Regions from separate parts of the Homo sapiens genome. Here all the other regions are linked to region 4. Evidence: promoter capture Hi-C in 16 types of primary human blood cells and fetal thymus (Javierre and others, 2016). All regions are on one chromosome and are shown on one strand. Each heading gives the region's core, a stretch centred on a gene start or on the middle of the fragment in contact. The rest is flanking DNA. Distances are from core to core; before and after follow the strand shown. Region 1 overlaps STYX (serine/threonine/tyrosine interacting protein). Region 2 holds the start of TXNDC16 (thioredoxin domain containing 16). Region 3 overlaps KLHL28 (kelch like family member 28). Region 4 holds the start of GTF2A1 (general transcription factor IIA subunit 1). Region 5 overlaps TOGARAM1 (TOG array regulator of axonemal microtubules 1). Region 6 overlaps FBXO33 (F-box protein 33). Region 7 has its middle 6.3 kb from the start of RPS29.

Region 1 (3,985 bases), core at 1,094-3,593, about 28 Mb after region 4:
GCCGGGCACAGTGGCTCACGCCTGTAATCCCAGCACTTTGGGAGGCCAAGGAGGGTGGATCACAGGGTCAGGAGATCGAGACCATCCTGGCTAACATGGTTGACACCCCGTCTCTACCAAAAATACAAAAAATTAGCCGGGCATGGTGGCGGGCGCCTGTAGTCCCAGCTACTCGGGAGGCTGAGGCAGGAGAATGGCGTGAACCCGGGAGGCGGAGCTTGCAGTGAGTTGAGATCCTGCCACTGCACTCCAACCTGTTAAAACAAACAAACAAACAAAAAAACCCTGCCTGTCTATGGATCTTACTAACCAAGATTTTAAGTCTGAATGCTCATAGTCTTCTTCTACCACACATCCGTCTGAACACACGTCTAATAACCAAGTCTTGCCACTATCACACTTAATTCTTAATCTCAGCCTGCTCACACTACTCCTGAAATCTATCATTTTAGAAACCGTGGTATTAATGGAGGCATCTCCATATCACCAGCAATGATCTATTTTAAGTTACTATTGTAATTAATTAGTAGAAATCAATTTCCCAAACTTTATGAGTAGCCAAGCAGTTCAACCACATTAACCAAACCAAGGCAAGCCAGATAAACCAAAATAACCCTCTATTGTGAAACACCATGATTCTGAGACAAATTAATTCACAAGTGAAAATCTTTCGATCAACATGAGGTAGAAAGTACCACATGTTAAAACATCCTTCCGAATTATCTCCTTCCTTTCCATAAAAATGATCTATAAAACTGCATTTGGATAGAGAAAAGTTACAAAAATGTTCAAAGACCCTCAAATAAACACATCAATGAAGGATATAGACTGTAACCATTAGATAAAATAATTCTTATATGCATTGAAATATGAAATATGAACTTTTACAAATACAGTAGTCCCCCCTTATCCACAGGGGATATGTTCATACATTTGAGGATAGTGCTGAATCCTATATACACAATACTAAAATAAAACACAAATTGTACATAGGCTGGAGGTGGGGGGCAACAGTTTGGGGAAGAAAAAAAACATCAGAATACTAGACTTGCACTGGGACATTCCACAAAACAGAAAAGTTAGTATTGCACTTTCTCTCCTAGAAAAAATAGGTAAATCCCTCCAAAGTCCTTTTCCTTTCATTCCCACACCAAGCTTGAGCTTTGCTTAAATCAAAGGAGAAAAGAAAATGTTTCACTCAAATAAAAAGAGAAGGTGGGCAGGGACTGGAGGGGCAGAAGAGTACTCAAGTAAGATATTTTCTAAACCAGCAATTTTTAAACCTGACTGAACATTAGAATCATCTAGCTTCATTCAGATAAATTAAACTACAATAGGTGCTGGTAGGGTCCACGCATCAGTATTTTTAAAAAATTCCTTACTCTAGAGTAAGGGTTAAAAAGCACCATTCTAAATAAAGGAGCTAGAAAAGGAATCCTCAGCCATGTATGTTAAATAATTCCTATCTTTGATCCTGTACTACGGGATTCACAAGAAAAATGGAAAGGGAAACATGGAAAGTTGCTAAACTGCAATGGAAATAAATATTTCACTTTCTGTCAGAAGAGAAGATAAAACATTAACTTTTAAATTATAAAACCAATAGCCCCAGCTACAACCAATTTGCTTAAAAATTGGTACTATCAGCTACTCCTTCTTCCTAATATCTAAGCTCTCTTATGAAAGGTTCAGTCTAAATGGAAAATAGACAATGACCAAAAATTGTTAAATGTTACAAAGGTAAGTATTAAAGTACCAAGTGCCATAGTAGCTGGGGAATTGAACCAGTCTAGAGGATGAGGAAAGGAGTTAGAGAAACTGGCAAACAGGAAAAGCTTCTCTGAAGAAATGTTGCCTAAAGTGGGATCTAACCCAAGGGTAAGCAGTTAATTAGGTGAGGGTAAGGAAGGTGCTGGCAGCCAAGGCAGGGGAAAATAGCAAACATAAAGGCTCTGAAGGCGGGGGGTGGAAATTAAAGCATTCCAGGAACTGAGAGAAGATAAATATGGCTAGGGCTTACAGAGAAAGGAGCAAGAAGAGTAGCTCATAATGAGGTTAGAGAGGTATGCAGATGTCAGACCATACAGGACCCTGGAAATAATGTCAAGGGTTTAAATTTCATCTTCAAAACAATGGAAATTCATGAAAAAGTTTTAAACAAAAAAAGTAACAATCTTTTCACAAACTGACTGATCTAAATTTTTGTTAGCACTGTCCTATACAAAGAATACCAATATTTCAAGAAACGTGAAAGTAATATTCTTGTAGAGGTGACAGAATCATCAACCTATCATAGCTTGATCACATTAACATTAAAAGCATTCCCTGAACTCTCTGCTTGAATTCAGTTTTTATTAAATTTGGTCTGTAATTTGGATTTCCAGGTAGTGCTCCCTGTGTCAAAGAAACAATGCTGGCTGATCACTCTAACTACTTAAGACCATTTGACACTTTACATTATCTCACTGGAGATTAGAAAATTAACAGTGCTTATTAGTCAGTTTATTATGAATAACTATATGCTCCTATTTAATAGTTTATTTATGTGGCCCCTATGTATAGTTTTATCAGCCCAGAAAGTACCCTCTACCTGTGGAAATGTTCCTATGGTTTTGGTGGGAGGGCTACCAACAATAAACTTCACTCCTCTAGCCAAGGAATTAGGGATATGACCTAGATGGGGCCCCTCATTGTATCTGCCCTTTCCTGGCTACAGTGACTGATCCAAAGTGTGGGAACATGAATTAAATTGGGCAATTCCTCTAGATTTCAAACACAGAAGCTGGAAGTGTTCAGTTTTATTCCTCAATAACCAAGCTCATAAAGGTGTGACCCCAGATGGCCAAGCTTCACATCTTGGAGAAGCCAGAGAGAAAGCAGAGACTCCGAGAGAAAGTAGAGATAAGAACTCATGAGAGACAAAGGCAGTTCTGATGCTTTATAATACCTGGGTTTGGTCAAATCCTTGAAACTAGCTGCACCACTACCCTTCTGGATTTAATTACTTTTTTTTTTTTTGAGATGGAGTCTCGCTCTGTCTCCCAGGCTGGAGTGCAGTGGCTAGATCTCGGCTCACTGCAAGCTCCGCCTCCCGGGTTCATGCCATTCTCCTGCCTCAGCCTCCCAAGTAGCTGGGACTACAGGCGCCCGCCACCATACCTGGCTAATTTTTTTTTAAGTAGAGACGGGGTTTTACCGTGTTAGCCAGGATGGTCTTGATCTCCTGACCTCGTGATCCGTCCGCCTCGGCCTCCCAAAGTGCTGGGATTACAGGCGTGAGCCACCACGCCCGGCCGGATTTAATTACTTCTTCTTTTTCTTAAATTCGTTTTTGTTGCTTGCAACCAAAAGATACCAAACATGCAATATTAAGAAATACGGAACGAATTGGCTTTCAGCAGACAATACTTGCATCATTATCCACTAGCTTTAACCATTACCTCTGTCCCTGTGATATAATATGAAATACATGGTCTTTCTCTCCAGTTCCTGTCACAGTCCTCCTAAAACTCTTGGAATTTTCTAATAGGAGTGTCTTTGGTTATTTATGAGCCACTATTTTTGATCAAACCTGATTATGCTAATGAAGTGATTTAGGGTGGGGCCAGTCACCAGAAAGACCATGTGACAAGAGGGTTGAACTCTCAGCCTCACACACACACACACCTCTATGGGAGGGGATGGAGATGAAGTTCTATAAAAACCGTTGAATAAGATTTGTTGAGCTTCTGGATGAAAACACTGGAGGTGCTAGTGAGGCAGGTGAATAGGGTCTGGAGGCAGGGAATCTAAGGCTGTTTCACCCCGACTTCCCAGAACTAACTTGAAGGGAAAACCCTAACTTTCCACGCCTAAGTAACAAAAGGACCAGAGGCTACTCCCGTTGCAAACCACCTACCTTTTCTGCACAGTAGACGGGAAATTGGCTGTCCTCAACAAATCAGACTGACTGCGGGTGGAATCTTCGTTTGCAACTTTGTAACTT
Region 2 (3,680 bases), core at 1,181-3,680, about 29 Mb after region 4:
TGCGTTTTTGTCATTGTATTGTTTGGACTTTCAAAGGATGGAGAAGGAAAATAATAAAAGTTAAATTAGTTTTGTTGTTTTCAACTATTGTTTTTAGTGTGCTAAATAGCTGACATTATGACTGATTATAAAATTATGCATTCTACTTCCTATTAAAGGAGAAAAGAGTTGGTTTATGCAGGAAATATAAACACTTAATATACGTCATTTTTTTTTTTTTTACTTTTGCTTGGAACTACATTAATTCCATCACCTCCAAAAAAGCCTTTGAGAGGATTAGCTGCATAGGCCAATATTATTCTATATTAGTCTGTATTAAGCATATGATGTCACCTTGCTTCCTCCCCTCCTCAAGCTTTTCTTTTGGTGGGAAGGAGGACTTTTTTGGGGGAAAGTCTTAAAATATTATGGCTTAAATACCACAAGCTGACACACATGATTGACAACCTTACACTCCCAAACCTGTTTGAAATGGGTCAAATACCTAAGCGCTGCAGAACAATGCAATCCAACCAGCAATTCCCCATAAAAGAGAAAGGGGGTGTGATTAGGTTCCAGATATTAAGCAAGTTATTGCAAAAACAGTTTGGTGGTTTTGTTTCTGCAATAGGCACAGGTTAAGCTAGTATTTTTTTCTCTTAATTAGCTCCAAAAAAGACTATGCTAATAGGAGGTAGGATAAACCGCTAAAGCACGAAGCAACTGGGGCAAACATTAAGGGCTTTATGGAGGTCCTTATCCTGATCCTCAGCATTGGTTATTGATCATCAACCCTGCTGGGGAACTATCGAACGAAATTTATGTGAGGCTTATCGAGCCACAGGAAAGGAGATGCAGGAGGGAATATAAGCTTCTAATAAAAGAAACGCAGCAACAATAGCAGAGGAACAGCTCTGCCTGGTGACGTAATGGCTGGCAGCAGTCCAGCTTCAGCAGAGCTGCTGCTACCTCAGCATCCAACCTCCCTCAACACAGTCCGGCTTCGGCAGAGCCACCGGGGCTGCTACTTCTTGCGATGCCACTTTGTTGGTGCCACCAACGCCTTACCTCGGAGGGCCAGAACACCGAACAAAGGGTTCGTTCCGTTGCTGTTTTAAGTTGTCAGACACACACACTCACTCACTCACCCCCTAGCCCGAACCCCTCAGTAATCAAGCCAATCAGCCACTTAAGTTTAAGGCGAAAACACTGGCTCACACTCCAGGTGTGCCTCAGTTTCCCCAGGCTGGTTTCCAGTCCGCCTCTCGCTGCCCACCCCCCGCCCCCGCTGGTCCTCAGCGGGAGTTGATCCCGGCGGCCCCGCGCACCCGCCCGGGCCCCGCATGCCGGCCCTCCCGCCTTACCTCCGCCAGGTAGAGGTTGAGGAGACAGAGCGTGGAGAACTGGAGACAGGAGGGGAAGCAGTAGAGCAGCCAGTGGGGGAAGAAGTGCAGGTGAGCGGGCGGCCGGAGCAAGGGCAGGGAGCCGCTGAGCGAGAAGGCGGCGGAGAAGAGGGTGGTCCTGAGCGCTGCCCACAGGAGACAGAGGAAGAGGCAGAGGCTCTGGTAACTCAGCCGCCGCTCGCGGTACAGGAGCAGCCGCCACAGCTGCAGGTAGGCAAAGGCGAACAGCGCGGCGTAGAGCAGGGCGTGCAGGACGCTCAGCGCCAACTGCACGGAGCCCGGCACCGCGGCGCCTGAGGCTGCAGCGACGGCGCCTCCGCCTCCGCTGCCCCCGCCGGGCGTGGAGGGCTCGCGGCCGGCTGCGGGGGCGGCAGCGGCCGCCGGACCCGGCACGGACACCCTCATGAGGGGGCTGGGGGCCGGGCGAGCGAGCGCGGGAAGGAAGGGGCTGGACTCGGAGCCGCCGTCGAAGGGGAGAAGGACTGCCCCCTTACCCCCCACCCACCCCAGCCTCTAACCCCAGGAAGCGCCGTGACGGGACCCGGAGTCCAGCGCAAAGCAGCCGCGGCTCCCCCGGACCCCGCCTCCTCTTTCCCCCCACCCCCCGGGGGTCTCGGCTCCTCCTGCTGCGGCTCGGCTCCGTAGCTGCAAAAAACAACTCTCGGCTGGAGACAATCAGCTGAGAAACCCGAGCATTTGAGGCGCTCGCTCCGCACTGTGGGCTCGCGCCGATTGGCCCAGGCAGGCACGCCCCCTGAGCGCCGCGCTCGGAAGGCCACGGGCCGCAGGACCCGTCGCTCGAGGGCCCCGAGATCTGATTGGGCGCGTAATTTCCCTACTTTCTCCCGCCCCTGTACTTCCCACCCACGCTGCTGATTGGCCCTGCTACTGCACCGCCCGTTCGCGCCGGCGGGAGGACTCTGTAATCGTCTGTCACTCTCGCTCCGCCCACCACGTTTCCCATTGGTTAGAGAGTGCCTCGCGTAGGGAGCACGAGGAGAAGGAGGAGCTTCGCAGGTTGTTTTTTCCCAGGAGGCCGACTCCGCCGAGTCGGTGGCGGCTGCAGGCTGGGAGGGAGAAGTGCTACGCCTTTGCAGGTTGGCGAAGTGGTTCCAGGCTACCCGGCTAGTCTGGCACGGCCCCGTCTTCTGCCTCCTCCTCCGTCGCGTGGCGGCGGGAACTGTTGGCCGCGCGGCCTCGGGAACGGCCCAGGTCCCCGCCCGCAGGTCCCGGGCAGGTAGGTGACAGCGCTGGCCCTTCAGGCTGTGGGCTCTGCCTGCAGACCCGGGGATTCAGACGAAGCAGCTTTCTGTAGCCAGGGCTGCACTGCACAGCTCCGGAGTCTGACTTAAGACACCCGTCTCTGGGGCACCGAAGGGCCTCACCTGGAGCCTCCTGAGGGCATTTTGCTTTCTCTTTTCGCTGCATGAACGGCGGGAAACACCGGAGCCCTTTGTGGGTCGAGGGGATGGAAAGGGGCGACGGGGAGAATCGGAGCTCTTAAGTGAAAGACCCTTTCCTCCCAAGGCCAAGGGAAATGTCTCTTAAGGAAGAGTAGTAGTAGTATCAGATGGATGTTGAAGCGATCTGTGAGCAGGGGGAAGCTGGTTCTTTCAAACGTAGAATTTGGGAAGATGCTCTGGGCTTAAGTTTTGGGAAAAAGGCAGAAACAGACTTGTAAGTATGATGATTGCCTGGAGAGGAAGTAGAATATTCTGTACTGTTTAAATTCCACATGTATCGAAGCCTTGGACCTGTGTATGGTAGATGGTGGCGCTATTCCTGGGCCTGAGAGAGAAAATACATGCTGTGTTACTGCTGTGAAGAACCGAGGAATAATCAGATCGACTAACGTATATTGGGCCGGCACATAGTTGTTGACTTTTTTTTTTCCTATTTGGAAATAAGATTAGCAAGTAGTGCAAAATTAAAAGGAAATAATTTGTTTTCTTTAGAATACACAGCACATTACGAATTCAGTATCCTTGTGAAAGACATTGCTACGTTTATTGGAGCAACAAAGACCCAGCTTTTCTTACCTCACCATCCTTTGTCCTATGCTTTTTTTTTTTTTTTTCCTTTTTTTCATGCAGGGTCTCGCTCTGTCGCCCAGGCTGTAGTGACAGTTCACTACAAACCTCCACCTCCTGGGCACAAGCAGTCCTCCCACCTCAGCCTCCCAAGTAGCTGGGACTACAGGCACTGGAGCCACCATGCCCGGCTGATTTTTTTTTTTTTTTTGGTAGAGACGAGGTTTCACTATATTGTCCAGGCTGGCCTTTGTCATATGCTTTGCCC
Region 3 (4,023 bases), core at 1,508-4,007, about 36 Mb after region 4:
CTTGTAGGTAACCTTTAAAAGTATATATTGTGTAAAATTTCCTTTTTTTAATAGAAATGATTATGTATGTTTGTAATCTTCCCTATCGTAGATAAATGGTGACACACTAAACACACTTTGCTTAGATCAGGGAGATCACTGCAGAGTATTCTATACAGAGATTCCTCATTCCTTTTCATCGCTGTATAGTACTGCATTGTGTGGATGCTCTATAGTTTTCACAACCATTCTTTTGTTGCTGGACATGAGAGTTGTTTTAAAAATCTTGGTCAGTTGCCTTTTGGTCTCTCAAATATGAGGAATAAGAAACATGAGTATATTATTTTGTTTTTATAAATAGATCTGCAATTATTATTAGCCTTATGGATTTGTCTTTATACATTTTTGCCAGTGTAATTTTTGGATAGATTCTTAGAAGTAGGGTTTTTGGGTCAAAGGAAAAATCCAAATGTAATTTTGCTGTATTTTGACAGATTTACCTCCAGAGGTTTTGTATCATTTTCTATTCCCACAGCAATGAGTGAGATTTCCTGTTTCTCACATCCTCACCAACAGACTATACTGTCAAGAGAGAATTGTTAACTCCATGTATTAATTTATTTGATTTTAAGTGAAGTTGAGCAATTTTTGTATGGTTAAAATCATTTATGTTTTTAACAAACATCTGTTCATTTCTTTAACCAATTTTTCCTATAGGGCTAGAAAATTTTAGAAATATTTTATGTATTACTGATATATATTTTATATATGCTACAAATATTTTTCTCAGTCTCATTTATATTTTTACTTACGATTTCTTTATTCCAAGTTTTTAAAATGTAATCAGTTTTACCTATTTTTTCACTGATGTCTTCTGGATTTTGTTTCAAAGTTAGGAAACTGTTCCCTAATCTCAGGTTGTCTTAGTTTGTTTTCCATTACTTATAACACAATATCTGAAACTGGATAATTTATAAGTAAAAGGAATTTATTTCTTACAGTTATGGAGGCTGAGAAGTCCAAGGTCAAGGGGGCCACACCTGGTGTGAGCTTTCTTGGGGCTGCATCTGGTGGAAGCCTTCTTGCTGGTAAGAACTCTGCAGAGTCCCAAGGCAGCACAAGGCCTCACATGGTGAGGGGGCTGTGAGTGTGCTAGCTCAGCTCTCTCTTCCTCTTCTTATAAAGCCACTGGTCCCACTCCTGTGATAACCCTTTAATTTGCTAACATGTTAATTCATTAATCCATAAGTGGATCAATCCGTTCATAAGGACTCTGCCAGTTACCTCTTAAAAGCCCTACCTCTCAATACTACCGCATTGGGGACTAAATTTCAACATAAGTTTTTACCCGTATTTTATTCTAATATTTATATAATTACATTTTTCATATATATACCTCTGATTCATTTGTAATTTATCCTGTTGGTGTAGGTATGTAGCAGAAATCTAGTTTTACCTGTTTCCATATGGCTATTCCGTTATCTCAACACATTTATTTAAACGTTTCTCTTTTCCCTCGCAGAGATTCCACCTTTATCATATACTAAACCTGCATATCTAAATGATCTACTTTTATATTTTCTGTTCTCCATTGATCTATTTTTCCTTACATACGTCTCATTTAATCCTGTTAATCCACAACAAATTTTACAAATGAGAATGTTTAAGCTTAGAATAAGTAATTTGCCCAAGTATCAAATAGCCCAGCTATTAAGTAGCAAAATGTAGACTTAAATCCAAATCTGTCCGACTCTAAAATTAATGCTTTTACTCCCTGTTCTTTCCTGTGTTTGTTTTTTTTTTTTTTATGGTACTTACCCTTCCTTTTACGCAAAGTGGTTACTGAGGTAAATGAAACTGCCAGTGTAAAACTGTTTGACAAATGTGGGGCTTTGAGGATTAGAAAGTATTACTTCTTTGAATTACTTTTTTTAGCCATTTATGGGTAGATAGCTGAGAACCAAATATAGTCACAGTTGCCATGTATAATTTTGAAGGCATTATAGTTTTTGAGCCAAACGCAGTGGTGGACACCTGTAGTCCCAGCTACTGATGAGGCTGAGGCAAGTAGGTCACTTGAGCCTAGGAGTTTGAGGTTGCATTGTGCCATGATCATGCCTTTGAGTGGCCATTGCACTCCAGCCTGGGCAACATAGTGAGATCCTGTCTCTAAAAAACTTTCATTTTAAATATTTCTTAAAAATAATTTTCAGTAATTTTTAAGCTGCTAAACTTGAGCTATAAATATTTTAACTGGTTCTGGAACTTTTGCCTAAGAATAACCTGGAGGACTTAAAACACAGTTTGCCCATTTCCTGCAACCCCACTGCCCTATGTAGTTTCTGATTGCTTACAACTGTGATGGGGCTCAAGAATTTACATTTCTAGCAGGTTCCCAAATGTTGCTAATGCTGTTGGTACAAGGATCAGATTTGAAAACCACTGTTTTAAAAACTCTATATTTGAAAATGTTAGAATTCTGTGCATTTTTCTAAAGTCATATTTTTTGAGAGAGGAAAGGGGCCAAATTAAAAATTTTAAGATTTAATTTGGTCATGCTCAGTGGCTCACACCTGTAATCCCAACACTTTAGGAGTCCAGGGTGGGTGATCGTTTGAGTCCAGGAGTTCGAGACTAGCCTAGGCAACATGGTGAAACTCCTTCTCTACAAAAAAAATACAAAAACTAGTCGGGCGTGGTGATGTGTGCCTGTAGCCCCAGCTACTTGGGAGGCTGAAGTGGGAGAATCACCTGAGCCCAGGAGGTCAAGGCTGCAGTGAGTAAGCTAAGATCTCGCCACCACACCCTGGCCAGGGCAACAGGAATGAGAACCTGTCTGAAAAACAAAAACAAAAACAAAACAAAAAAATTATGTTATGGAAAACTGCTAGTGTAATTCATTTTAAGTTCCCTATTTTTACCTTGCCTTGTTGAAGTTGCTAGTTGACACTGTTTTGATTAAGCATTCAAACTATAATTTTTAAAATTAAACTTTATTCTCAGTAGTTCTTACAAGGAATGAAAGTATATCATTTGCATCTAATACAATTATAAAAATATGCTAGGCTTTCTTTTATGAAGTTACTTTTACCAGTGCCTTTTCTTTGGCCCATTTTAAACACTTTGATAATTTCTATTATTATGGAGTAAAATGAACCATGCTGGTTCAAATGAATAGAATGTCTTACTTACTAGTTGGAATGGTCAGAAAATATTTAAAAGGTTTTAACAACATAGATCTAGGAAAGTGAGATAAAGCAGTATTATAGGGGCATAAGTATAGGGGAACAACTTTGTCATGGTACTCTGGTCACCTTGCATGTATCCATGTAGGCAAAGACTTGGACCTCAGGACTGCAGCTTATCCGTGGCTTGACACACCTTGTGATTCTCCTGGAATATGAGAGAGTGAGAGGCCTCTAAGGAGCTGCTATGAGGTCATCTCCCAATTTTCCACTCACCTCTCTATTTCCCCTACAAGTGTGTCATGAGACAGTTTCTCTTCACTTCCCTGGTTGTGATTAGGTGTTAGACTTTTGACCCCATCCCACACCCTTAGAATAGAGCTACAGAATAGAAAACTGCTTAGCCATAGTTTTCATGGGGCCAGCCCCTTTTTTGTGTTACCATTTTTGATGTGCGGGACAAGGATCCAGGCAGTTTACTCTTTGGCTAATCTTCTTTTCAATCTGTAAGTAATAAACTATCTAAATCTAATAAGCCATCTATATTTTAAAATGGCTCATATGTCTCTTTACTGATAGAATTAGTGAGGCTTTGGCCTGGCTTTGGTAGGTATTTGTTCCCTGGACAGTAAGCAAACTTCCTTCCTTTTTTGGTATGCATGGAAAGGCATTTCATGGATATAGTTGGCAATAACCAAGCTTTTTAAAGGTTGATGAACAGTAAAAATAAATAACGTCTACCAATTACTGAGTGCTTATGTACCAGCACATAGAAAGGCATATTTACAACTGCTTTTTATACAATTTTGTCTATTTTTTTACAAATGAGAAAACTGAAACTTTTGACTGAATTTCCCAA
Region 4 (3,578 bases), core at 119-2,618:
AAAAGAAATGTCAAGGTTCATAGATATCCTCTACACCCATTCACAATCTCCCATTTTCTGAGTATTCAAGGCCTCTGGTTTCTCTAATCCCTTTCTTCAAGTCTTGGCAAGATGCATTTTTTTTCCTCTTTGGTAAGACGCCTTTGATATTCTTCAAATCTGGTTTCACCAGCACAGAACTTTGACGTTTCGTTTTGCTTTGTCTCTGGAAGACAAACTCCCTCACTCATCCACGCGACATTTCAAGTCCCTCAAAATTCCCAGGGACAAGAAAACTAGGTACTATGAATTCTGCCTTCCAAACAGCATTCTCTGTTCTGCTTGCAAGGTCGATATAAAGGCAGGATTTGCTTGGGCAGAACAAGTCAAAAGCTTATTGAATTGCACTTATTGAATTGAACATGGAACACAGCCGGCTTGCTCTCTTATAGCGAGAGGCCATGCGAGTTGGTGGGTCAAGGGCATGCATTTCAAAGTGATCAGTCACTATACGTTGGCCACATGGAGTCGCAGTATTTTGGCAATATTTTTAAAAACCAGGGAAAGTTACTGTGCTGTTACAATCCAAAGGCTGGTGGGGTTTTCTTCCACCCCGCATTTCCACTAGCGTGATAAATTATTTAAAGTACGTGGCCTAGTAGAGGACTAACCTCTGGGTAACATAAGCCTAGTCTTCGCAGCGTACCCACTGTGGAAACAAACGAATCAGACGTTACTAATTGTGGAATGTTAAAAGTAGGCCCCGATCGGCTTTTACTCCCTTTGGAAAATCCTACACAATTCTGCGCGCGAAAGACCCACCCTCGGTGAGGCGGTGAGGCGCGAACGCCGCGAAGCTCACAGTCAAAGCCTCGCTGACAAATCAAGAGATGACTCCGCATTTAAAACCTTCCCGAATAGGAACGCGCCAGAGGCCGGAAGCCACGCCACGTGACCAGTCCTCCTCCGCGGCCATTCCTAGCGAGGCAGTAGGCACCGCCTCTGTCACATTTCCTAGCTCCTAAAGCGCGGGACCAGGCGGAAACGTGCGACAGGAGGCGGTCCCACCTAGCTTTGGACTGGAGTGTCAGTAGAACTCCCGTCTTTTCCAGCAACGCTTTGCAAGTTCTTCACCGCAAAGAACTGCCGCAGACTTCCGCCTGGGTGCCAACCACGTGATCACGCGAGCGTTGGAGAGGCGTAGGTCCGATTTCACTACTTCACTCCCCGGGCTCCGCCAGTCCAGTACCCGCCACGGCGCGTGACAACGCGGCTCGCCGGCGGCCTCCGCCCCGGCGCGCCTGCGCACGCGGCTCTCGCGGTGTCTCGCGCTCAGCCCCGCCCACCTCTGCCCCCGCCCTTTCCGCCCCTCCCTCCCCCTTCACCCTGTCTCTCGGCGGCGGCGGCGGCGGCGGTGGTGGCTCGCGCAGCTTGTTGGCTCGCTATATAAAGGAGAGAAGCGGGCGGACCGGACGGCTGGAGCTGCAGCCGGTGGCGGCAGCGGCGGCGCAGGGAGCGGTGACCGGTGGTGGTTTCCCTCCTTGGCGCGGGGTGGGGAGCGGGCAACGCCCCCCGGACCCCTGAAGGGTCGTGGCTTTTTTTTTTTTTTTAAGGCGATTCTCGAGGTTTTCAGCTGCGGGAGGAGTGCCCCCCTCCTCCTCCTCTCTCCGCTCTCCCCTACTCCTTCAGGATTGATTTTGTTTAAAATTTTTTCCCCAATCTTGCGGTGATTTGGGTCACCCTCCGGGTGTTATAGTTTTTTTTTTTTTGGTTTTGTTTTTATCTTGTTTTCTTGGGGTTGCCCCCTCTTGTTTGTGTTGTGTGTGGAAATGGCGAACTCGGCAAATACAAACACCGTGGTAAGGACGTGGTTCGGTGGCCGGCGGGGGCTTCGTTCAGGCTGCAGCAACGGCCGGACCGGGCGGGGGCGGGGACGGCGGCGACTCCCGGCCTCGACTCTTCAGCCGCCCGCGCGGCCGCCGCCGCCGCCGCTTCCCGCCTCGGGCGGATCGGGCCGGAGCGCCGGGCGGCGGGCGCGGGGGGGCGCCGAGGGCTCGCGGCGCGGGGAGGGCGGGGGCGCCGGTGGGGCCTGGGGCCGCCGCGGGCCGGGCCGGGCCGCGGAGGCGGTTGGGCCCGGTCGGGCGCGCAGCCCCGGCCCCAGAACCCGGCCGCCGGGAGGGAGGGCGGGAGGGGAGCCGCCGCTTCCCCCCGAGGGGCCCGTCCGCGCTGGCTTGACGAGGGCTCCCCGAGTGGCTACAGAACAAAAACTGTGTGTGGGGAATCGGGCGAACCCCCGAGACCCATCGTGATCCACTTTAATGCAGTGGAAGATTAATGGTTACTTTGGGGGTTTCTTAGGTTGTTTTTGGCGGCTGTGCTTTGGGAACCTTCTCTGAGGCCATTTTATGTTTAAAAAAAGGACGAAGGTTGGTTGAAAAGCACTTATCTCAGTTCCTTCCGAATGGGTAAAATGGCGAAGGGGAAGACCCCCATCGTATCTTCGCCTAGCAGAAGCACCAAAACAAACAAAAAAAGCCTGCAGTGGTCCAAGTGTCCCCGCTTTCGCCTTGAAATTTACCTACTTCTTCCCGTTGGTCCCTTTTTGTTACTTGCGATCACGTAGGTTTGCAAAAAGCAGTCACATAAATAACCTTTTCAGTCACCAACGCAGTGTGATCACTAGTCCACCCAACTCTTATTTTTATGATGACAATAAAACACGTTTTTTGCCCGGTCCCAAATGCCGCAGACCAGCCCGCGGCCGCCCGACACCGTACCGTTGGCGACTCGGGTCTAACCATCATGGCTGCGGCCGCTTACCCTGCTTTTCAGTCCCTGAGCCTTGTGGTCCTCCTCCCTTTGGCTGCCCTGTTTATATAGAGCCATTGCCGCTCTCTAATATAGACTCTGCCAGGATGGGAAGGTGCTTTTCAGGCCTACGTCACCGCCTCTCCATTTAAACACCAGATCCGGCTTTAAATAGTGAGAGCTGCTGAGAGCGGGGCTGGGAGGTGCGTGCTCCCGAGGCAAGAGCCAGGCGTGTGCAGAGCTCAGTTTATTTCTAGGTCCTTTTTTCACCCTGTGATTTCGCACCCGTCGCGGGCTGCTTTCAGAGCCCCAAGTTTTGGTTTTGTTCCCAGCAGCAGCTAGGATTTGCCTTCTTTGTTTGCTAGGGGGAATATATCCGAATCGCTGTCCCTTTTTGTTTACAATTTTCAAAATTAATTATTTAAAACAAAGAGTTTTAGATCAGATGGTCTAGCCATTTTTCTTATGTGCATTATTTTCGGGAATTTAAAAAACTGCTTTCTACATGGAAAATGTTAGCTGCAGAGGACTTGGTTTTGGTAGTGTTTTGTTCAAGTATTCAGGAAATAATGTTAGAAATATAGCTCCTAATATTTCATTATGTTTTCCTATAGTAAATATAAAAGACACGAGGCTTTTCAGAGAAATAGATAAGTACCTAAAGCTTCAGTATAGGACCATTTATGTGTAGGAGAATCGTGAGTAGAGGGAAGAGACAGACTGCAAACTAGATTAAAAAAAAATCTAAGTAGAACTTTATTGCCTTGGATATTAACATGGGTATCCGGTAT
Region 5 (4,049 bases), core at 634-3,133, about 36 Mb after region 4:
AAGGGTTCAAGTCCAACCTGAGCAACATAGCAAGATCCCATCTCTAAGACTATTTTTAAAAATAAAAAAAAGAAGCCCAGGCATGGTAGCTCACGCCTCTAATCTCAGCAATTCGGGAGGCTGAGTTGGGCAGATCACCTGAGGTCAGGAGTTCGAGACCAGCCTGGCCAACGTGGTGAAACCCCATCTCTACTAAAAATACAAAAAGTTAGCCAGGTGTGGTGGCACTTGCCTGTAGTCCCAGCTACTTGGGAGGCTGAGGCAAGAGAATCGCTTGAACCCAGAGGCAGAGGTTGCAGTGAGCCGAGATTGCACCACTGCACTCCAGCCTGGGTGACAGAGTGAGACTCTGTCTCAAAAAATAATTTAAAAATAAAATAAAGAGGAAAAATAAAATAAAGGTTTTCAGAACCTACTGTATAACAAGATGACTATAGTTTATAATAATGTGTATTTGAAAATTGCTATGAGAGTGGATTTTAATGTGATCACCACAAAAAAAAAGTTAGGTCTGTAAGGTGATGGATATGTTAATTAACTTTATGATCCACAATGTATAAAAACATTAAGTTGTACCTCATAAATATACACAATAAAATAATTCCTTTTTGCTCATGCCAGTTGGGTCTTCCTTCTGTTGGGAATGTTACCTTTATATAGCATTTGAGGTTTACAAATGCTTTTTTTTTTTTTGAGACGGAGTCTCGCTTGTCACCCAGGCTGCAGTGCAATGGCGCGGTCTTGGCTCACTGCAACCTCCACCTCCTGGGTTCAAGCAATTCTCCTGCCTCAGTCTCCCAAGTAGCTGGGATTACAGGTGTCCGCCACCATGCCTGGCTAATTTTTGTATTTTTAGTAGAGATGCAGTTTCACCATGTTGCCCAGGCTGGTTTCGAACTCCTGAACTCAGGTGATCTGCCTGCCTTGGCCTCCCAAAGCGTTGGGATTACAGGCATGAGCCACCGTGCCCGGCCCTACAAATGCTTTCTTATACATAATCCTTTTTAAATTTTGGACTTCACAATAATCCCAGGATGTATGTAAGGTTTAGCAGGTAATTATAAAACTGGGTTTCCAAATTCATGCTTTCTGAATCAAAGTCTTATGCTTTTTATCTGAATAATACTTGCCTCCCTCGGTCATCTCCCTTTGAGTCACATCACTGTGTACCTCCCTTAGCACTTTTGTGATGTTCACTGCTCTCTTCTTTGCTATATATTTTTTCCTCTCCAAATTACTTTTCAGATTCTCTTCAGATTCTCTTCACTTATTGTAATTTAAATTTTACTATAAGCAATATGTCTTGTTCATTTCTGAAAAAATAGAAATTACAGAAGAGTACATTGAAAAAAATTAAAATAACTTCACTGCCCACAGATTACCACCATTAAGATGTTGGTATATATATACTACTACTTCTGTTTTCTAAGTGCACATATATTAATGGAGACACTGTACTTATTTTGTAGTCACATTTTTCCTTTAACATGTATTTGGCATCGTTTTTAATGACTATATGATATGCATTCCATTGGGTAAATACATCATTTAACATTTTTTGTTGTTGCATTGGTGGGTGACGTTAGGCTTTTATCATTACCATTGCTAGTAAACGACATTCCTTTATTCCAAGTAAATGCGTTTGTTTATTCGGGACTTCAGCTTTTCTTTAGTTATTTCAATCAGTGATCAGTCTGTTTCTTTGTTGACCTCTGGGTTGATAATGGTTCTCGATAAGAGTGCTAGACTTCTGAGTGCTCAATTATCAAGCAGTTACTAAAATACAGAAACTCTTTAGGCTTGAGACTCTTTTGTTACATTAATGGCTATTTTCTTTATAATAAAAGGTAGCTCACATATTATGTAAAATAAAGTTGCCACATTATTGATTATATTTACTGTATTTTTTTCTCCCTAGACTGATCAGAATATTGTACTTTTCAGTGCAAAATTCAAACTAAGGAATTAGGCTTATACATGAAGTAATGGTCTTCTTTATCCTTTAAAATGTAAAATCTACCTTCAATATATCTAACAATCTATTGATGCAAATTTAGCTAGCACAAGTGCAGTGATACAAAGGCAGAAGTCATAATTAATAAAACTTAAAATCTGTAACTATTGTATCAATGATGCATATCAAGTAGGGTTGAAGCAAAATGTAATGATTTCAGAGTTTACAACTGAGATCAAATGAGTCTAACAGAGGCCTATTTTTCTATGACCTGAGCTAAGAATATTTTTTTACATTTTTTAAGTGTAAAAAATAGGCCAGGCACAGTGGCTCACGCCTGTAATCCCAGCACTTTGGGAGGCCGAGGCGGGCAGATCACCTGAGGTCAGGAGTTTGAGACCAGCCTGGACAACATGGCGAAACCCCGTCTCTACTAAAAGTACAAAAATTAGCTGGGCATGGTGACGGGCGCCTTTAATCCCAGCTACTCAGGAGGCTGAGGCAGGAGAATTGCCTGAACCTGGGAGGGGGAGGTTAAAGTGAGCCGAGATTGCGCCATTGCAGTCCAGCCTGGGTGTCAAGAGCAAGACTCCATCTCAAAATAGATACATAAATAAAATACGGGCTTACAAATCCGAAAATATTTACTCTATGGCCCTATACATAAAGTACACCAAACTAGAGGACTGTAATAAAATACACTTAGAAGAAAATATAAGGTATTTTAAAAGTATATAATTATATAAAAGTTTATATAAATAGAAAAAGTAGCCAATTCTTTACTCTTATTTTAGCTTAGCTTGAAATAGAAGCAACCCCCTTACCCTTTTTTTTTTTTTCTCAGAAGCTAAGGATAAATTTTTCTTTTTTTTTTTTGGAGGTGGAGTTTTGCTCTTGTACCCCAGGCTGGAGTACAATGGTGCAGTCTCAGCTCACCACAACCGCCGCCTCCCGGTTTCAAGCGATTCTCCTGCCTCAGCCTCCGAGTAGCCGGGATTACAGGCATGCGCCACCATGCCCGGCTAATTTTTCTATTTTTAGTAGAGATGGGGTTTCACCATGTTGGTCAGGCTGGTCTTGAACTCCCGAACTCAGATGATCCACCCACCTTGGCCTCCCAAAGTGCTGGGATTACAGGCGCGAGCCACCACGCCTGGCTTTTTTTTTTTTTGAGACAGAGTCTCACTCTGTCGCCCAGGTTGGAGTGCAATGGTACGATCTCTGGCTCAATACGACCTCGCCTCCCAGGTTCAAGCAATTCTCCTGCCTCAGCCTCCCGAGTAGCTGGGATTACAGGTGCCCGCCACCACACCTGGCTATTTTTGTGTTTTTAGTAGAGACAGGGTTTCACCATATTGGCCAGGCTGGTCTCAAACTCCTGACCTCGTGATCTGCCCACCTCAGCCTCCCAAAGTGCTGGGATTACAGGCTTGAGCCACCACGCCCGGCCAGGATAAATTTTTTTAAATCACAATTTTAAAAACAGCCAAATACATTAGAAAACTGGTCAGTGACTCAGAAGTACAAAAGAATGAACATAGAATTATAGAATTTTAGAACAGGATAGGACCTTTAAAATCTTCTAGTCTAGCTCTTACATTTTAGACATGAGGAAACTGAGGCCCAGACCTGGTAAGTGACTTGTCCGAGGTCAGACAGCTAATTTCCTACAAAGTTAGAATGATAACCCACGTCTATTTGTAGGTCAATAGTGATAGGTCAGTATCATAATAAGTAGATCAAGTGAAAGTGATAGGTCGATACTACTGTATATATATATATATTTTTTTTTCCATTTTAACATGTATGGAAGTTGGAAAAACAGGACACCTCTCACACATCTAAAGAAATAAATCCTTTTATTTTATAACATTCCTTTTCTTTTTAAAGATGCATACAGTACTTGTAAGCCCATGAATTCTGAAAAAAGCTATAGAAGACCTGGCACTATTTTTGAGAATTACAAAACTGGGCAGCAGAATAACACCTTTATAAAGGTCAAAACATAAAGCAATAAAATTTAGTGTTTGCACACAAAAATAGGGGGGTTACATTCAACACGTTTTTTAAACGTGCATTTAAAATGTTTAATGTT
Region 6 (3,935 bases), core at 193-2,692, about 42 Mb after region 4:
GATACCTGTCTTCTTCATTAATAGTAAGAACAGAGGGGCAGTAAGTACTCATTCAACTGTATTTTAGGTCACATAGGCTGAATTTCTCTGCAGTCGTTCTATAAGAAATTGTACCTAGAAGTGCAAACAACAAATAGATATAAATGCATTTTTAGCATTTAATCCAGTTGTCAGGTTGGGTACTGCCTATTAAAATGCTGTATTTCAGACTCCTTAGGAAAAACGAGAGCTCATGGTAAGATTTATGATAATAGGTAATAGACTCAGTCACTAAAAATACCTGAAGAGTAGCCATAGGCACATTGTCTTCATCTGGTTTATGCTTCTATGGGCTGTATAAATGTTTTACATAAGCTTTTCTTGGGTGGAATGCTGTTAGGGGCAGTACTTTTTTGTTGTTGTTGAGAATTCATATCGTTGGCCAGGGGTGGTGGCTCACACCTGTAATGACAGCACTTTCTGGGAGGCCGAGACGGGTGGATCACTTGAGGTCAGGAGTTCGAGACCAGCCTGGTCAATATGGCAAAACCCCATCTCTTTTAAAATACATAGCCGGGTGTGGCAGTGCATGCCTGTAATCCCAGCTACTCAGGAGGCTGAGGCAGTAGAATCGCTTGAAGTCAGGAGGCAGAGGTTGCAGTGAATAGAGATCGTGCTACTGCACTCCATCCTGGGTGACAGAGCCAGACTCCGTCTCAAAAAAAAATTTAAAAAAAAAGAATGCATATTGTAACAGACCAGAGAAATTTTGTACAAGATTGATTTTCTTTTTAAGATTCTGGGTACAGCTCTAACTGCTTGTATGTAGATTGACCATTTCATGACTGTGTCTGCTTATATATCCTGTAAGTTAAAAAGGATCTATTAATAATACTTAGATTTGGGTCTTGTTGATTTGGCATGCACAGTGAAGGAGAATCTTACCTTTGTATTGTTTCCTACCAAGAAACAATAATAAAGACATTTAAAAATATTTTGAGACAGAGTCTTGCTCTGTGACTCAGGATGGAGCAATCATGATCATAGCTCACTGCAGCCTCAAATTCCTGGGCTCAAATGATCCTCCCACCCCAGCCTCCCTAGTAGCTAGGACTACAGGCATGCACCACCATGCCTGGCTGATATATATATTTTTTTAATTTTGTGTAAAGACAGGATCTCACTGTGTTGCCCAGGCTGGTCTCTAATACCTGGCCTCATATGATTCTCCCATTTCTGCCTCCTAAGGTGCTGGGATTACAGGTGTGATCCCCTGCACCCTGCCTAAAAATGCATTTTAAAATGGGTTAAAAATTCCCTGGACATTTCAGATTACTACCTAAGATGGTAGAAAATGCCTTGAAGGTATTATCTCCAACAGTTTTTAGCCTTATTTTTCTTGAAATATTTCTCCTGTGGTAGTATAATAAATATGTCTAACAATGTTTCATCTCTGAGAGTTTACTTTGTTATTATTTACTTTAAAAAGCCCATTTACAGAATAAATATATTAAAATATACTGGGCCTGTGACCAATCTGCCCTGTTCAAGAATTAGTTTCCTGTGACACTGCATTCCCAGCAGGCTCCTTACCTAAAAACTGAAAAAGAGGCTCCTTAGGGATAGCCTCAAAGTTACTGAGAAGGAAAGCTAAAGAAACTAACCTCCTGGAAGGCTGTTATGAGAGGTTTTAGGACTTTTTATTCCACAGCTGTATTGGCAACTGATAGATGGAATAGGGTGTAAAACTCAAGGAAAAAAAAGTTAAAATTTTTTGACTGTGTTAAATGAGGGTGTTAAGCAGCTTTTGAGTGGAGTGATTAAATATCTCCATTTTAATTTGTTAGTTCTGAGGCAGCCTTGGGAGAGTTCACCAAACTTGACCAATTTATTTAGGAGCTAAAATGATAGTTATAGAAAATCTAGGGTTTTTTCCTCCAATTATTGAGAGCGTACTATGTGCCAGGCGGGGAAGACATGCTTCCCGTTCTCACGGAGTCATTCTAGAGGAGGAAGGAAGACAGAAACAAGTAGACAAAGGAAAGAAGGATTATTTCAGGTTGTGAAAATAAAATCTGAAAATAAAACAGAAGGATGTAATAGTCACTAGGTGGCAACATTAGGTAAAGTGTCAGGGAAACCTCTTTTGAGAAGGATATTTGAGCTGCAGCATGAATAACAAGCGTTGCCCATCTGAAGATCTGAGCAAATAGCATTCCACACACAAGAAACAGTAAGCGCTAAGGTCTTGAGCCAGACAAATTTTTGGTCTGTTCGAGCAGTGGAAAAGAAAGTGTGACAGGGCTGTGGCAAGTGAGGATGAAAATGATGCCATGATGAGTTCTGAGAAGTAGAAGAAGGAAGAATTGGGGTTAGGTAGGCTTATTTAATGAAGTTTGGAATATATTCCAAGGATAGAAGAAGTCACTGAAAAAAATTTTAAGGACAAGAATAATGTGATATCATTTGCATTTTAAGACAATCACCCTGGCCATTTTATGAGCGACTTAGGGACCAAGAGAGAAAGTAGGGGGACAAGTTGGGAAGCTTTTACTGTACTCTAAGCAAGAGATGATGGTAGCTTGAACTATGATGGAGGCAGGAGAGATGAAAAAAAGTGGATGGATTTTGGAAGTATAGCCCAGAGTACTCACCAGTTAGATGTGGGTAGTAAGACAAAAGGAAAAAACAATATTTTTTCATCATTTCTTTCTCACTCGATTTTCTTGTCCTTATTATTGTTAAAATTATCTTTTAATAGCATGTTAAAAAAATAAATATGAAAAAATAAAATAAAAAATAAATAAATAAATAATTTTTAAAAATAGCATGTTAAATAACAACCGCAAGTGTTCATTTTATTTAAATACACCTTTTGTGTGTAACCTTCGGGATTTGGGGATGGTAGTTATTCTTAGATTAGGGGATGGTAATTCTTAGATGGAATTGTAAGTTCTGGGAAATAACTTCTGGTTAATGGGTCCCAAAGCTAATACGGAGTACTGTTATAGGCCGGTTATTTATTTCTGGGTTCTAATGTTGTACTGTCAAATATGGCAGCCAGTAGCTACAGATAGCTATTTAAATTTTAAATAGATAAAATTAAAGACCCCATTAGTTCCACTAGCCACATTTCGAGCGCTCAATAGTCACATATGGCTAGTGACTGCTATATTGTACAACAAAGAATAGTACACTTCCATCCATAGAAGAAAACTACTGGACAACACATCTCTAAACTATTTGTGTTCGTTTGATTTGGCTATGACCGTTCATTAGCATTTTTGAGGAAAGGAAATAATGTTATTAAAAAAGTATAATGTGGATGTTAAAACATGATACTGAAAGTGGACTAAGAAGAATAGAACCAGCCCAAGAGAATTTCATGCAATGATGGTGGATTATTTTAGCTTTTATTAATTTAAAAAAGGAAAAAAGTTATATGTCATTATCTCTTTTATGGCATTGGAAAAGATTTTAATGTTTTTAAGAGCATCTTTTTAAAGAACCATGTTCTTTTATGTTTCCATAACTAATTCTTCTTAGCTGTAATAACTCTTAAGGTGGCTGCATTTTGCATTTTTCTATTGTTCCTGTGTATTAAATCAAAGAAATAATTTTGGATCCTCTGGAATGAAAAGAAACTTAACAAAGTTTACTACCATAGATGAAGTTCCCCAATTCTGACCCACAGAAGAGAGAACAAGGTCATCAGGCCTGAAATCTCAAGCACTGGGTCACAATTGTGCTAAACAGTCCTAACAGGAGTCTGAGAAGAATAATAAGACAATAAAAAATTGTGATGGTTGTTTAATTCATAAGGAAATTCTTGTGCAGTATAGAAAACAAGATATCTCATTTCAGTGGAATTTTAATAAACTTTTTTTTTTTGAGATGGAGTCTCACTCTCTCACCAGGCTGGAGTGCAGTGGCATGATCTCGGCTCACTGCCACCT
Region 7 (3,576 bases), core at 212-2,711, about 32 Mb after region 4:
TCCTGGGTTCAAGTGATCAGCCCGCCTTGGTCTCTCAAAGTGTTGGGATTACAGGTGAGCACCACTACAGCCAGCCTTACTGTGGGAGACAAGGTTTGTTGAAGGAACCGATACAGGAGATAGGAGTAGATAATGACTCTTAGGGGCTGGGCGTAGTGGCTCACTCCTGTATTCCCAGCACTTGGGGAGGCCTAGGCGGGAGAATAGCAAAAATTTAAAAGAGAAAATTAGCCGGGTGTGGTTGTGCACGCCTAGCTACTTGGGAGGCTTGTGCCACTGCACTCTGGGCAACAGAATGAGACCCAGTCTAAGAATGACTCCAAGGATTTTGGCCTGAGCAACTGGAAGGATAGAATTGCTGTTGAGATAGGCCTTTCCAGGTTTGGGAAGAATAGAAAGTTCAATTTGGACATGTTGACTTTGAGACTTGTCTTAGACATCCAAGTAGAATCTGTTTTAAGCAGTGACGTGAGTGATCAACTGTATTGTGTGCCTTTGATTAAGACAGAATTGGTAACCCCAGTTTTATCTGAGAGGAGGGGAAGTGTGACAGAAGGGAAGCTGGAATGGAAAGAGCATCTTAACTGGTTGCAGCTAAATTATCTTTGCCAATTTTTTTTTCTTTTTTTTTTGAGATAGAGTTTTGCTCATGTTGCCCAGGCTGGAGTGCTGCAGTGGCTTGATCTTGGCTCACTGCAACCTCCGCCTCCCAGGTTCAAGCAATTCTCCTGCCTCAGCCTCCTGAGTAGCTGGGATTACAGGCATGCGCCACCATGCCCGGCTCATTTTGTATTTTTAGTAGAGATGGGGTTTCTCCATGCCGGCCAATGGCTGTTCTCGAACTCCAGACCTCAGGTGATCTGCCTACCTTGGCCTCCCAAAGTGCTGGGATTACAGGCGTGAGCCACCGCACCCAGCATTTTTTTTTTTTTTCTTTTGAGACGGAGTCTTGCTATGTCACCCAGGCTGGAGTGCAGTGGCATGATTTCAGCTCACTGCAACCTCTGCCTCCCGGGTTCAGGCGATTCTCCTGCCTCAGCCTGCCAGGTAGCTGGGATTACAGGTGTGCCTGTACAGGTCTGCCACCACGCCTGGCTGATTTTTTGTATTTTTAGTAGAGGCAGGGTTTCACCATGTTGGCCAGGCTGCTTTTGAACTCCTGACCTCAGGTGATCCACCCACCTCAGCCTCCCAAAGTGCTAGGATTACAGGCATGAGCCATCGCTCCTGGCCGCCAATTTTTTGAAAACATGTGATTGAACACATTCCTAGTATACTTGCCTTAGAAGGAGCTTGTAGAAGTTAGGGATACTGGAGTTTAAGTTTCATAAGCTTCATAGTAAATCCACCTGTGCTCCTAACCCTGAACCCCAGGTGTATGTGATGATAAAGTTGGTGTTGGGGAAGTGTCTAGGAAAGAGCCAGGTTTCAGTCTGGGTAAGGAGGTGGGAAGAATATTGGGAGATGAGGTTGAGGATGTAGAAAAGATTTATTGGTAATGGGATGAGCTGGTATTGCAGATAGAGTGGATGAGAAGCTGTGTCAGCTAAGCAAATGTAAAAAAGTTTGGGAGATGATGAGAGAAGCTTACATATGTAGTGGTGAGTTAGGTCAAAAAGGGTGTGATATGTGTTTGATTTGGTCATGAGAGTCTCTTGGATGGGCTGGGCTCTGGTCCAGTGTGATGGCCTGGTATAAATTCTGTAAGAGACGTGCAGTGCCTTAGGTAATGGAAGGGAAACACTCCCTAGACAGTCCTATCCCTGTGTATACATGGTGGTAGTGAGTGGGAAGGCTGCTGTGGATAGGTGGTCTAAGTGCTTTATGCACATTGCCTTTTTCCAGTCTTAGAGTACTTTTCAGCAGGTATTATCATCATTACATAGCCAAGGAAACTGAGGCTTAGAGATTAAGTAATTTCCCCAAGGTCTCCCAAAGAAAGAGACAAAACGACTGGAACTGGGTCTGTCTGAAATCAGTGCCTATGCTCTTAATATTCACAACACACTTATTGTATGGTTAGAGGACTATGCATCTCTTATTCCCAAAGATCACTTAGTTACTTGAGGGCAGGAGTAAGTGTTTCCTTTCATATTTACATGCATACCAAGCACATAGCAAGATGCCTTGTAGATTAATAGGTCCTCATTTGTTGGGGAATTGAACTAAATTACTTAGTAAAAGCTCAATAAGTGTTGATGGCAAAAGATGGTAGGTGCTATAGGAGAGGCCCAAACAACCATTGGAACATAGAGGATCTATTCTTTGTTTTTCAAAATTTATTGTAGAGACAGGGTCTTGCAGTGTTGCCCAGGTTGGTCTTATACTCCTGGCCTCAAGTGATCCTCTTGCCTTGGTCTCCCAAAATGCTAGGACTACATGTGTGAGCCACCACTCTGGCAGAGGATATATTCTTAGGTTTGGATTCTGTCTTAGTGTCTTTGGGCCACTGTAACAAAATCCAGTAGACTGAGTGGCTTAAATAACAGACATTTATTTCTCACAGTTCTGGAGGCTAGGAAGTCTGAGATCAAGGTGCTGGTAGATTTCATGTCTGGTGAGAGCTGTTTCCTGACTCATAAATGGTGCCTTCTCATTGTGTCCTTACATGGTGGATAGGGCAAATGAGCTTTCTTGGGCTTATTTTATAAGGGAACTACTCCCATGAGGGTTGACCTCTCATGACCTAATCTCTTTCCAAAATGCCCCACCTCCTACAACCCACAGGCTAGGGTTTCATCATGTGGATTTTATGGGGGACATAAACATTTTGGCTGTAGAATCTCCTTTAATACAACAATTCCCTGAGGTACCGTCCCCATTTTACAAATGAGGTGACTGAGGCACAATGAATAAGTAACTTTCCCAAGATTGTATAGCTAGTAAGAGAGATTCAACCAGGTAGTATGTCTTGAAAACTGCTCTTACCACTAAACTGTAAATGTTCAACAAAAAGTGAAAGCTGGCTGGGCGGGGTGGCTCATGCCTGTAATCCCAGCACTTTAGGAGGCTGAGGCAGGTGGATCACAAGGCCAGGAGTTTGAGACCAGCCTGGTCAACATGGTGAAACCCTGTCTCTGTTAAAAATACAAAAATTAGTTGAGCATGGTGGTGTGCGCCTGTAATCCCAGCTACTTGGGGGGCTGAGGCACAAGAATCGCTTGAACCGGGGAAAGCGAGGTTGCAGTGAATCGAGATCATGCCACTGCATTCCAGCCTGGGAGACAGAGTGAGACCCTGTCTCAAAAAAAAAAAAAAAAAAAGTGAAAGCTTTGGTAAATATTGGTAGTCTACAAAATTGCCGAAAGAAATTTTTTTTATAAAAAGTGAAAAATTGTATATGTGCTACAATTTTATTATGTTAAAAAACAAGTACACAGGGAAAAAAATCAGAAGGAAACATGTCATTATGTTAGCAGCATTTGACTTTGGGTGATGTGATTTATGATTTGATTTGTAGCAGTATCTGATTAAGACTCATTTAGAGATTGAGTATCCAGATACTGCAGTGTATAATGTCCCTGGTACCAATATTGCTAGTGAGGCTTCTGCTCCTCCTAAAACAGCTCATTCTAT

Evidence for each region. The method cuts DNA at HindIII sites, captures the fragments that hold promoters and counts their contacts. A CHiCAGO score of 5 or more calls a contact.
Region 1: a fragment that was not itself captured here is called in contact with the fragment with the promoter of GTF2A1 in region 4 in 1 of 17 cell types (non-activated CD4 T cells); the score reaches 10.0 in non-activated CD4 T cells.
Region 2: a contact is called between the fragment with the promoter of TXNDC16 here and the fragment with the promoter of GTF2A1 in region 4, in 2 of 17 cell types (total B cells and non-activated CD4 T cells). The highest score is 11.9, in total B cells.
Region 3: a contact is called between a fragment that was not itself captured here and the fragment with the promoter of GTF2A1 in region 4, in 1 of 17 cell types (fetal thymus). The highest score is 6.7, in fetal thymus.
Region 5: a contact is called between a fragment that was not itself captured here and the fragment with the promoter of GTF2A1 in region 4, in 1 of 17 cell types (activated CD4 T cells). The highest score is 6.4, in activated CD4 T cells.
Region 6: a fragment that was not itself captured here is called in contact with the fragment with the promoter of GTF2A1 in region 4 in 2 of 17 cell types (non-activated CD4 T cells and activated CD4 T cells); the score reaches 7.0 in non-activated CD4 T cells.
Region 7: a contact is called between a fragment that was not itself captured here and the fragment with the promoter of GTF2A1 in region 4, in 1 of 17 cell types (activated CD4 T cells). The highest score is 9.4, in activated CD4 T cells.

What each region holds. Positions count from the first base shown.
Region 1 is chr14:52,734,090-52,738,074 of GRCh38, reverse strand. The region is part of intron 1 of STYX (serine/threonine/tyrosine interacting protein); the gene reads right to left. Among named protein-coding and RNA genes, the nearest start is that of STYX, 5.9 kb to the right of the region's middle. RefSeq lists an enhancer at 3,870-3,985. The HindIII fragment of the contact is 1,012 bases long and covers 1,838-2,849 here.
Region 2 is chr14:52,551,255-52,554,934 of GRCh38, reverse strand. It overlaps TXNDC16 (thioredoxin domain containing 16), which reads left to right and starts at 2,430. Exons shown (of 21, transcript NM_020784.3): 1 at 2,430-2,619. It overlaps GPR137C (G protein-coupled receptor 137C), which reads right to left and starts at 2,099. Exons shown (of 7, transcript NM_001099652.2): 1 at 1,344-2,099. The coding sequence starts at 1,787. RefSeq lists silencers at 1,630-1,829, 1,840-1,909. The HindIII fragment of the contact is 4,024 bases long and covers 853-3,680 here.
Region 3 is chr14:44,950,667-44,954,689 of GRCh38, reverse strand. All of the region lies in intron 1 of KLHL28 (kelch like family member 28), which reads left to right. Among named protein-coding and RNA genes, the nearest start is that of KLHL28, 9.3 kb to the left of the region's middle. The HindIII fragment of the contact is 2,216 bases long and covers 1,650-3,865 here.
Region 4 is chr14:81,218,749-81,222,326 of GRCh38, reverse strand. GTF2A1 (general transcription factor IIA subunit 1) reads left to right here and starts at 1,368. Exons shown (of 9, transcript NM_015859.4): 1 at 1,368-1,838. The coding sequence starts at 1,809. GTF2A1-AS1 (GTF2A1 antisense RNA 1) reads right to left here and starts at 1,109. Exons shown (of 2, transcript NR_135252.1): 1 at 802-1,109; 2 at 1-688. RefSeq lists silencers at 1,204-1,503, 1,534-1,583, 2,114-2,233 and enhancers at 2,574-2,663, 2,704-2,773, 2,646-3,154. The HindIII fragment of the contact is 3,079 bases long and covers 375-3,453 here.
Region 5 is chr14:45,074,179-45,078,227 of GRCh38, reverse strand. It overlaps TOGARAM1 (TOG array regulator of axonemal microtubules 1), which reads right to left. Exons shown (of 20, transcript NM_001308120.2): 20 at 3,797-4,049. Among named protein-coding and RNA genes, the nearest start is that of PRPF39-DT, 7.8 kb to the left of the region's middle. The HindIII fragment of the contact is 6,278 bases long and covers 1-4,049 here.
Region 6 is chr14:39,424,986-39,428,920 of GRCh38, reverse strand. The region is part of intron 1 of FBXO33 (F-box protein 33); the gene reads left to right. Among named protein-coding and RNA genes, the nearest start is that of FBXO33, 5.5 kb to the left of the region's middle. The HindIII fragment of the contact is 2,172 bases long and covers 357-2,528 here.
Region 7 is chr14:49,578,247-49,581,822 of GRCh38, reverse strand. It overlaps a transcript of RPS29 not described here. Among named protein-coding and RNA genes, the nearest start is that of RPS29, 6.3 kb to the left of the region's middle. RefSeq lists an enhancer at 130-249. The HindIII fragment of the contact is 254 bases long and covers 1,335-1,588 here.